2 separate regions of the Homo sapiens genome follow, and region 1 is linked to region 2. Evidence: promoter capture Hi-C in 16 types of primary human blood cells and fetal thymus (Javierre and others, 2016). All regions are on one chromosome and are shown on one strand. The core of a region is centred on a gene start or on the middle of the fragment in contact, and the rest is flanking DNA. Distances in the headings are between cores, read along the strand shown. Region 1 holds the start of KAT8 (lysine acetyltransferase 8). Region 2 holds the start of ITGAX (integrin subunit alpha X).

Evidence for each region. The method cuts DNA at HindIII sites, captures the fragments that hold promoters and counts their contacts. A CHiCAGO score of 5 or more calls a contact.
Region 1: a contact is called between the fragment with the promoter of KAT8 here and the fragment with the promoter of ITGAX in region 2, in 2 of 17 cell types (monocytes and neutrophils). The highest score is 9.3, in monocytes.

What each region holds. Positions count from the first base shown.
Region 1 is chr16:31,113,918-31,119,684 of GRCh38, reverse strand. It overlaps KAT8 (lysine acetyltransferase 8), which reads right to left and starts at 2,021. Exons shown (of 11, transcript NM_032188.3): 1 at 1,793-2,021. The coding sequence starts at 2,003. It also overlaps a transcript of BCKDK not described here. RefSeq lists an enhancer at 1,438-1,557 and silencers at 1,728-2,077, 1,977-2,203. The HindIII fragment of the contact is 10,033 bases long and covers 1-5,767 here.
Region 2 is chr16:31,353,924-31,359,549 of GRCh38, reverse strand. It overlaps ITGAX (integrin subunit alpha X), which reads right to left and starts at 4,374. Exons shown (of 30, transcript NM_000887.5): 1 at 4,259-4,374; 2 at 3,552-3,657; 3 at 2,822-2,925; 4 at 2,449-2,519; 5 at 2,186-2,297. The coding sequence starts at 4,295. RefSeq lists enhancers at 4,603-4,792, 4,983-5,112. The HindIII fragment of the contact is 18,983 bases long and covers 1-5,626 here.

The sequences.
Region 1 (5,767 bases), core at 772-3,271, 240 kb after region 2:
CCTGGGTGACAAGAGCAAGACTCTGTCTCAAAAAAAAGAACCCCAAAAAACAGAACAAAACTGAGGCTTACCTAGGGTCACAGATTTGAAAAGTGGTAAGAGCTAATACTTAACTGAATTTAAGTCTGACTCTAAATTCAATGCTCATTTTACCACATACCCGCAGTTGTTCATTTGTTCAGGGATCATGAGTGCTGGCTCTGGATTAAGATAACCTACATTAATGTATAATTCCAGGGCTGGGCATCGTGGCTCACGCCTGTAATCCCAGCACTTTGGGAGGCCGAGGTGGGTGAATCACGAGGTTAAGAGGTCAAAACCATCCTGGCCAACATGGTGAAACTTCGTCTCTACTAAAAATACAAAAATTAGCTGGGTGTGGTGGCGCACAACTGTAGTCCCAGCTACTCAGGAGGTTGAGGCAGGAGAATCGCTTGAATCCGGGAGGCAGAGATCGCAGTGAGCCAAGATGGCGCCACTGCACTCCAGCCTGGCAACAGAGAGCGATTCCATCTCAAACAAACAAACAAAAAAAAATACACAAAATTCCAGCTCCCTACTTCCTAGCTATGTGTAACTGAGCAAGTTATTCCATCTTTCTGAGCCTCAGTCTCTTCATCTGTGAAAAGGGATAACAGCTGGGCACAGTGGCTCATGCCAGTAATCCCAACACTCTGAGAGGGTGAGGTGGGAGGATCACTTGAGCCTAGAAGGTCTAGGCTTCAGTGAGCTGTCATCGTGCCACGGCAATCCCACCTGGGTGACAGAGCGAGATCCTGTCTCAAAAAAAAAAAAAAAAAAAAAGACAAAAGGGATAATAGTACCAACCTTAGAAGGTGAATTAATGCCTCCAAAATTTTTAGCAGCGCACCTGACAATTAGCAGAGCATTCAATAAATGAGTAAGGCAACCACTACGTGTCTGGCCCTATGCTGTGTTGTTGCCGGGTACAGAGGACACAGTGATGAATCACAAGAAGTGCTGCCCTCCAGAAGTTCCCAGTATGATGGAGGAAGACAGAGAGAGAAAATTACAACATAATGTTACAAAAACTATGACTGAGGTAGGAAAAAAATGTTGCAGGAACATAGAGAAGGGAACCACTCACTTTGCCTGAAGGGGAATCAAGGATGACATCACAAAGGATATGAAGCTAAGAGGATGAGTAGGAGCTAGGCAGGCAAACAAGGAGAAAGGGAAGAAAAAGCATTCCAAGCAAAGGGCACAGGTGGTAAAGGGCGTGTGGTCTTCAGAGGGCACAGTGTGTTCTGGCCTGGCAATGCCCTTTCCTAGTGTTGGCTAGAAACTGGAGAGGTCACAAAAATGAATGCCACCCTAAGGAGTTTGGGGTTAATTTTGAAAATGAGAGAAGGCAGCAGAACTTTAGGAAAGGGAAGCCTGTTGTTTCTGGAAGGTCTTCTCTCTGCGGATGGCTGCCAGGGACAAATGGAAAAAGAAGACGCAGAGACAAGAGAGGGTGAGGAAGCAGCGTTAGCAAGAAAAAGGAATGAAGCCTAAGACTGGGCAAGGAAGTGGAATGGGAACAATCCTGGTGAAGGCCTGAGCGGTGGGTTTGTAGGCGTCGCTCGGCATAATTCAAGGTCAACAGCCTCCCACAACCCGGCTGGTTTCTCAGCGCCCGGAACGCGGCGTTCTTTCCTCAAGCCCCGCCCCTCCTCCTCTCCACTCCCAGCCCCCGGATCTTGGCCTCACTGACAGCCTGTCCTCAGGCCCCGCCCCACCCCCTGGCCCTGAGCTCCGCCCCGCCCCCAGCCCTGGGCCCCGCCCTCACGCCAGGTGCTATCCGGTCGCCGGCACAGGTACGTTTCTCCGATCTCCACCGTGACTTCCGGCTCGCCGCGCGCCGGGGTCGGCGGAGAGACGCGGCCCGGGGATGGGGCGGTCCCCTCAGCGGCCGCATTCTCCCCGGGCCCGGGCTCGCCCTCCCCCGCGACCCCTGAAGTCCCCGCCGCAACCGCCGCAGCAGCTCCCTGTGCCGCCATCGCGGGAAGGGAAGTGACGCCAGAATCGGACGCCACGCAGTTCTTTTGGCTCCGGGTCAGCAGTGCGTGGGGCGGGCTCCTCAAGGTTTGAGGGCGGGGTCTGTGATGTAGCAGGAGCCGATTGGCTTCTGTGGCCGTCCCCGCGGCCCCGCGAGTTGGATGTTGAGTGTGCGGCAGTCTTGGAGCTCCTGGTTTTCCGTGCGGACCTGTGGCTGCAGCCTATGGGTGAGGAGAGGAGACAGACTTACCTCATGCGATGACTCAACTCAACCTTTTTTTAATTTATTTATTTATTTATTTATTTATTTATTTTGAGACGGAATCATGCTCTGTCGCCCAGGCTGGAGTGCAGAGGCGCGATCTCGGCTCACTGCAACCTCCGCCTCCGGGTTCAAGCGATTCCTCTGCCTCAGCCTCCCGGGTAGCTGGGACTGCAGGCGCGCGCCACCACGCCCATCTAATTTTTGTATTTTTAGTAGAGACGGGGTTTCACCATGTTGTCCAGGATAGTCTTGATCTCTTGACCTCGTGATCTGCCAGCCTCAACCTCCCAAAGTGCTGGGATTATAGGCGTGAGCCACCGTGCCCGGCCAGCTGAACCTTTTTAAAGGCCCTGGTACCTGCGGAAGCCAAGATGTGCCAATTTTCAGCGGGCGCTGCCCCCACTTTAACAGGGCAGAGCCAGAGCGGCCGCCCTGGTGGCCTGGAGCCGCACACTCGCGCTGGCCTAATGTCGCTCCCCGCCCCCCCCCCTTTTTTTTTTTTGAGATGGAGTCTCGCTCTGTCGCCCAGGCTGGAGTGCAGTGACGCGATCTCGGCTCACTGCAGCCTCCGCCTCCCGGGTTCAAGCGATTCTCCTGCCTCAGCCTCCTGAATAGCTGGGATTACAATCGCGCGCCACCACGCCCGGCTATTTTTTGTATTTTTAGTAGAGAGAGGGCTTCACCCTGTTGGCCAGGCTGGTCTCGAACTCCTGACCTCAGGTGATCCGCCCGCCTCGGCCTCCCAAAGTGCTAGGGTTACAGGCGTGAGCCACCGTGCCCAGCCAGTGCCCCATTTTTGAAGGTTGAAGAGACTACTTCCCCTATTTGGGATACAGTTGGTGCGGGGAAAGCAGAACGGGTGTGTCCAGGGACAGGCCATAATTCACCCTCACAGGATAAAGTCTAAAGAAAGGACGAGTTGGGCGGGGCGTGGTGGCTCACGCCTGTAATCTCAGCACTTTGAGAGGCCGAGGCGGGCGGAGATCGAGACCATCCTGGCTAACACCGTGAAACTCCGTCTCTACTAAAAATACAAAATTTAGCCGGGCGTGGTGGCACGCACCTGTAGTCCCAGCTACTCGGGAGGCTGAGGCAGGAGAATCGCTTGAACCCGGGAGGCGGAGGTTGCAGTGAGCCGAGATCCCGCCATTGCACTCCAGCCTGGGGACCAAGAGCCAGACTCCATCTCAAAAAAAATAAAAAGGCCGGGTGCGGTGGTTCACGCCTGTAATCCCAGCACTTTGGGAGGCCTAGGCGGGTGGATCACGAGGTCAGAAGATCGAGACTATTCTGGCTAACACGATGAAACTCCGTCTCTACTAAAAAAAAATACAAAACAATTAGCCGGGCGTGGTGGCGGGCCCCTGTAGTCCCAGCTACTCGGGAGGCTGAGGCAGGAGAATGGTGTGAACCCGGGAGGTGGAGCTTGCAGTGAGCTGAGATCACGCCACTGCACTGAGGGTTCTGTGAGAGTCAGTAAAGGTTAAAGCCATTTATATGTGTATGGTCCAACCATACACAATCGGCCCTCCATATCCGCATGTCCCACCTTTGGAGATTGAACGAAGAGCGGGTTGAAAATACAGTGTTGAGGTATGGTGGCTCACACCTGTAATCTCGCACTTCAGGAATCCAAGCAGGAGGATCGCTTCAGGCCAGGAGTTCAAGACCAGCCTGGGCAGCATAGAGACCTCCTTTCTACTAAAAATTTGGGGGAAAAAAAAAATTAGCTGGGCCTCGGGGCCCGCACCTGTAGTCCCACCTACTCAGGAGGCTGAGGCAGAGGGATCGCTTAAACCCAGGAGGTCGAGGCTGAGTGAGCTATAATCCCTCCACTGCACTCCAGCTTGGGTGACAGAGACCCTGTCTCAAAAAAAAAGGGGGGAAAGAAAAGGAGGCTGGGCGCAGTGGCTCACTCCTGTAATCCCACCACTTTGGGAGGCCGAGGCAGGCAGATCACCTGAGGTCGGGAGTTCGAGACCAGCCTGACCAACATGGAGAAACCCCATCTCTACTAAAAATACAAAATTAGCCAGGCGTGGTGGCCGCATGCCTGTAATCCCAGCTACTCGGGAGGCTGAGGCAGGAGAACCGCTTGAACCTGGGAGGCAGAGGTTGTGGTGAGCTGAGATTGTGCCATTGCACTCCAGCCTGGGCAACAAGAGTGAAACTCTGCCTCAAAAAAAAAAAAAAAAAGACTGGGCGCGGTGGCTCACACCTGTAATCCCAGCACTTTGGGAGGCCGAAGCAGGTGGATTACTTGAGGTCAGGAGTTCAAAACCAGCTTGGCCCACATTGTGAAACCCCGTCTCTACTGAAAATACAAAACAGTCAGGGGTGGTGGCGTGTGCCTGTAATCCCAGCTACTTGGGAGGCTGAGGCAGGAGAACTGCTTGAACCCAGGAGGTGGAGGTTGCAGTGAGCCGAGATCGCGCCACTGCACTCCAACCTGGCCGACACAACAAGACTCCATCTCAAAAAAGAAAAAGAAAAAAGAGGGAGGAAGGGAGGAAAAGAAAAGGAAAGGAAAGGAAATATTGTAAGGATGCAGAACCCACAGATCTGAAGAGCTGACTTCATATCTGCTGTTTGGCAGGGCCAACTGTAGGACTTGAGCGCCTGCAGATTTCGGTATTCACAGGCGGTCCTGGAACCAATCCCCAGCAGTTAAGCATGTATAACTATCAATCATATAACTATGTAACGGTTGAACTATCCGTCTTAGCAATATACAAGTGTATTGCAAAGTGCCAGACCGGGTAGGTACTCAGTAAACATTCCCTTTGGCTATTCTCTGAATCTTGTTTGATTTATAATGTGGTTATTGGGCTTGGAAACAATTCTGAGAGGAGTGGAATGCTCAGGGCCTGCGGATGGGTCTCTCAGAGGTTACAAATCAAGAAACATCCGACAGGCATGGTGGCTCATGCCTGTAATCCTGGCACTTTGGGAGGCTGAGGTGGATGGATCACGAGGTTGGGAGTTCGAGACCAGCCTGGCCAACGTGGTGAAACCCCATCTCTACTAAAAATAGAAAAATTAGCTGGGTGTGGTGGCACGCGCCTGTAATCCCAGCTACTCGGGAGGCTGAGGCAGGAGAATCGCTTGAACCTGGGGTTGGGGGGGGGTGGGGCGGAGGTTGCAGTGAGCGAAGATCCAGCCACTGCACTCCAGCCTGAGCAACAGATTGAGACTCCGTTTAAAAAAACAAAACGAAACAAAACAAACAAAAAAACAATGTAGGTGCTCCACCCAGATCCTCTGGGAGTTCTTGCTGTTTCTGTGTGCCCAGATTACCTTTGATGTGCTTTCAAAGACCCACACCAGCACCTGAGGCTCTTCTTAAAAAACCATCCTTAGGTTAATAGAGCTGTTCACTTTCCCAACTGACTTTAACCAGTGACTGCCAAGTGGAGAAATTAATCAGTAACTCTGAGGTTTAGCTCTCTTACCTTCAACCCTGAGGCATAATTGACTGGTTCTGGGCTTTTGCCTGAGGTC
Region 2 (5,626 bases), core at 3,125-5,624:
CTCCTCATCAGGGGCAGAGCTTCCCTAACCCCTTGCCTGGAACAAGGCCCTTCATTCTCTTAAAGTTGCCTAAAGAGGCTGTGATGAGCCAGGCGTGGTGGCTCACGCCTGTAATCCCAGTACTTTGGGAGGCCGAGGGGGGCGGATCACGAGGTCAGGAGATCGAGACCATCCTGGCCCACATGGTGAAACCCCGTCTCTACTAAAAATACAAAAATTAGGTGGGTGTGGTGGCACGCGCCTGTGGTCCCAACTACTTGGGAGGCAGAGGCAGAATTGCTTGAACCTGGGAGGTGGAGGTTGCAGTGAGCTGAGATCGCACCACAGCACTCCAACCTGGCAACAGAGTGAGGCTCCATCTCAAAAAAATAAAAAATGAAAAAGGCTGTGATGAAGCTGCTCAGCCCCATCAACAAAAGAGTGAAGGTCAGACTGGGTGCAGTGACTTACTCCTATAATCCAAGCACTTTGGGAGGCCTAGGCAGGAGAATTGCTTGAGCCCAGGATTTCAAGATCAGCCTGGACAGCATAGTTAGACCTCACATCTACTAAAAATTGTTAAAAATCAGCTGGGCATGGTAGCTCTTCTCTGTGGTCCCAGCTACTCTGGAGGCTGAGGTGGGAGGATCACTTGAGCCCAGGAGTTGGAGGCTGCAGTGAGCTGTGATTGTACCACTGCACTCCAGCCTCAGTGACAGAGTAAGACTATCTCTAAAAAAAAAGAAAAAAAAAAAAACCAGGAAGATTTCTCCAATTCAGACGGTAGGAAGCAGAGGGCCTACCCCTCCACCACCCTGGATATCTGTGCCCCTCCCTGGACCCACCCCTCCTTCCTCCCTCAATGTCACCCCATCCAGCAATGACACAAACTGGCACCAGTCCCTAGCCAGTGTTTGTCCTCACTGCTCAGTGCTGAATGGTAGTTTTGTTAAATTTCTTTTTTTAATTGAGATGGAGTCTCACTCTGTCACCCAGGCTGGAGTGCAGTGGTGTGATCAAAGCTCCCTACAGCCTCCAACTCCTGGGCTCAAGCGATTCTCCTGCCTCAGCCTCCCCAGTAGTTAGGACTAGAGGTATGTAACAGCATGCCAAGCTACTTTGTATTTTATATTTATTTTTTGTAGAGATGAGGTCTCACTATGTTGCCCAGGCTGGTCTCAAACTCCAGGCCTCAAACAACCCTCTTGCCTTGATTGTTAATATTTTAAACAAATCATCCCAGGCAACAGCCACACACTGGGCCTGTTCTGTTCTCAGCTTAAATACAGGCCCCCACTCCCCTCCTGTGTGAAGTTAGCATCTGTCCTGAGAAGAGACGATCTTCCAGCACCTGGAGAGGAAACCCCCTTCCATGTGACCTCTCAAGCATCCCCTCTGCCCCAGAGGCCTCCACCGGAGAGACAGGTGTCCTGGGCATTCTGATGGGTGCCCAGGCCCCTGTGGATGGAGTCTGGACCCACGGAGGTGCTGGAAGGCACACCCTATTTGCAGCCAGATGTCAGTCTCACCAAAGGCTTGAGAGCAAATGTGAAACCAGGGGGAGGCCTCAGCCTGCCAAAGCCCACTGTTTTGCTTCCTTATCTTTCTTCCCCATCAGCACCAGGGAAGTCAGGCCCTGCGTCTCAACCTGCATGTGCACACGCACACACACATACATGCACACACATGCATGTACATGTGTGCATGTGCACATGTATACACATGCATACATATACACACATGTACACACACACACGTTGCTCACACTGCACTTTCACTGACCTTTCCTAAACTACGGCACAAACCAATTGGTCATATCCCAGGACCCATTGGATGAAAATAGATCCTCTCCTCTAAAAATAACAACAGCTGGCCTTCATGGGGCTGTCGCCTGGTGCTAGCTGCTGTGCTAACCCCTGGCCATGAATCATCCTGTGTTGCTTTCAGTGCTGGGTGTGTTATTATCCCCATCCAACAGATGAAGAAACTGAGGCTTGGAGAGGTTAAGGTCACAGGAAAGGTCCGGCAGCGTGCGGGCGATCGGCAGGATGTGCGGGCAGCAGCGTCAGGAACCACTGCAACACGTGGTAACTCTTTTTCCAGATCCCTTCTTTCTGATCCACTCTGGCAAGACTGTCTCTAGCCCACCGCACCCCCAATTGGATGTGCGTGAGCTCCTCAAAGCCTTGGTGGTCCCGACACTCACCCTGCCTGGACACCGGGAGCCTCTGGGTGAGCTGGGTGGGGCCCAGGAGGAAGCAGAGTCCGGTGAGGTACATGTTCCTCCCGCACTCGTGGTGCACGGTGGGGCCGCAGGCCTGGGGACACAGCGGGCTGCTGGGGGGCTGCCCCTGCTTCCTCCCACCCTCACATTCCGGAACCTCCACCCTACAGGAGACTCCCAGCCCCCCGCGGCCCCGGCTCCTCCCTCCCTCCCTCAGAAGCCTCCTGTGACCCAGGGCCACTCACCAGCAGCTGGGAAGGGCTGGTGGTAGACGCCAGGGACAGGCCCAGGGACATGTTCACGGCCTCCGGGGGCACTGTGGGGACAGATATGTGCATGGTCACTCTCGGGGGTACAGAGAAGGCTGTGGAAGAGCTGGGCAGGGGTCACCTCCACCTGGGAGACAAGGAGGTCTGACGGTGAAGGAAGCTGTCGGGTCTTGACAGAGCTGCGGGAGTGCGATGGGCGGGGAGGCCTTAAGGGGCCAGGAAGCATATCTGAGGGTGAGGGTCTCAGACACAGTGGAAGCTGAAAGTGACACTCCGGTGAGTCCACGGGCCCCTGGAGCAGGGAAGCCTGGGAGCCCGGCCCTGGGTCCCGGGAGGGGCGGTGACTCACCCTGCAGGCCGATGGGCTCACAGGCACCAGTGCTGTAGCCACACTGGTAGAGGCCACCCGTTTGGTTGGCAGCTGTTATCTTTTGGGGGGCTCCAACCACCACCCTGCGAGGAGACAAAGAACACTTTAGGTAAGAGTGTGGACGCTGCAGCACAGCTGCCACTCCGGCAAGTTTGCGTTCCCTCCCTGAGCCTCAGCTTCCTCATCTGCAAGATGGATTTTAATAATTTAAAGTCCATGTGGAAGGGATTTCTGTCTGTTGGATTCTCTGGCGTATGGAGACAAGAAATATTTGTTGAGTCTGGGTGTGGTGGCTCACACCTGGAATCCCAGCACTTTGGGAGGCTGAGGCGGGAGGATTGCTTGAGCCCAGGAGTTTGAGACCAACCCAGGCAACATAGTGAGACCCTGTCTCTATATATTTTTAAATGTATAGAAAAAAAGAAAGAAAAAACAAATAAGTGTTTGTTGCACGACTGATTCCTACTCACAGGCTGTCGTGTGGACTAAATCAGCATCCACCTGTGATGAGCCTGGCACTGCACTTACTGCTCTGTAAATGTTAGCTGTGAGACCGTGCCTGCCTTCAAGGCAAATCTTCATTAGCCAGGGCAGTCGCTACACCAGACAGAGAGGAGAGTTTGCAAATAACAGGGCAGGGCCGGGGGCATGGGGCCCTGAGCAGGGAGAGGATGGATGGAGCCAAAGGCCAGCACCACCTGGGCCTCACCAGGAGTTGGCATACTGGACCACGCTGTCTCCAAACCCAGCGCTGTCCACACGGAAGGCTGTCAGCTCCTCTGTGTCCAAGTTGAAACCTAGAGAAGTTGCTAAGGCTGGGAAAGAGGTGGGAAGAGAGCTTTGGAGAAGGGTCTTCCTTCTGCCTGGCTGCCCTCCACCCCCGGCCCCAGCGTCCCAATCTCCCCTCCGAGCCTGATGCCCGGGGTGCCTGGGTCTTCTGGACACCCAACTCATCCCCTTCTCTCCTTCCCAGGGTCCAGGGATGCCCCTTGCCCACCATCCACTATCGAGTTGCAGTTCTCCATTTCTGCAGAGCAGTACCCAGGCTCTAAAAAGGATCTTTCCCCAACGTGCACCTCGGGCGCTATGAGAGTGAGTCCAGGAAAACTTGCGGACCAAAGCATCCTGTCCACAGAGCACAAGTTGGCGCATTCTGCCTATTTTAAAAATCTCTGCAGTACAGAGACAACTGGCCTCTCTTCCAGCATCTCTGGAACTCTCCCAAAATTGGTTCATCAATATCCTCTCCCTCCACAAACTCCAAATCTCAGACCCTATGTGCCTGCCTCCCCCTCAGGCTTGACTGAGTCTCTCTTCCTACCCAGATCCTAACCCCCCAGCCTGAGCCCCCAGTTCAGGGCCCTGGCTCCCTTGGGCCTGGGTCCCCAGCCCTACTTCATTGGGGTCCAGGCTCACCTGTGAACAGGAGGAGTGCTGCCCTGGTCCTGGTCATGACTAGAAGGTCAGATGTGGAGCTCTGAGCTCCTGGGCCGTTGCAGGAAGAGCTGGACCAAGGTACTGAGGAAGCAAGTGGGCAGAGAGGTGGCCAGGGGAAGGAAGAAGATTGTCAGCATGAGTCAGAGGGGGCGGGCAGAGTACGCAACTGATCCGAGGACAGGCTCGGCCTCCCACACGCCCCCACCCCCCAACCGGAGTCACTCTCATCAGATGACTTGGCTTGATGCCCTTTGCTTAGATGGATGCAAATCCCTGCCCTGCCCCTCCCAGGCTCACCCTTGACTGCCAGAAGGCACCCCTTGACCTTGAAATTTCAGCCAGACTGGAGGGGGTTTGGGCAGATGCCAACCCCTCAGGACCCTAAAGGAAACCCTGGTGGGAGCCCTCCACTCTGACCTGGAAAGTCTGGGCCAAGGAGTGGGGCATCCGGGTCCCTAGGAGGAGCACAGAGCGAGTATTTGTTCATTCATTCATTCACTCATTTATTCATCATTTATTCAAGAAGCCTAATTTGAGCCTGGAGATGCAAGCCCTCTGCTAGGTGGGGAAGAAAATATAAACCACAAAGCACCAGCCCTGGGGTCAGTGGAGAGGCAGATGTATAAACAGCAAGTTCATTGCTGTGAGGGGGAAGCACAGAGACCACAGGGTGCCTCACCCGGGTTGTGAAGGTGTGGCTTTCTGAGAAGGCTTCCTGAAAGAGGTGGTGCTTGAGCTGAGCATTGAAAGCAACCAAAGTTGGGAGATGACAGAGCAGCCAGACATGGATGAGGCAGGGGACAGGAGGGTCTGTGTGTGAAATCAGCAATGGGAACCAGACAGTCAGGGTGGGAAGTTGTAAGAGACAAGGTCAGGGCCACTGGGAGGAAAGCAAGGGGAAGCAGGCCTCAGGCCGTGGAAGCCCCCCTAATGTACATCAATTTTTTTTTTTAATTTCAGAAACAGGGTCTTGCTCTGCCACCCAGGCTGGAGTGCAGTGGGTGCATAGTTCACTGCTGCTTCGAACTCCTGGGCCCAAGGGATCCTCCTGCCTCAGCCTCCTGAGTAGCCAGGACTATAGGATTGCACCACTGCACCTGAATATATATATATATTTATATATATATATTTTTTAATTTTAGTAGAGACAGAGTTTCCCCATGTTGGCCAGGCTGGTCTCAAACTCCTGATCTCAATCAATCCTCCTGCCTCAGCCTCCTAAATTGCTGGGATCACAGGTGTGAGCCACCACACCTGGTGAAGACACATTGATTTTGTCCTGAGAGTGGAGGACAGCATTGAAGGGAATTCATGGGGACTGAGATCTTCACATTTTCATTTTAGAAA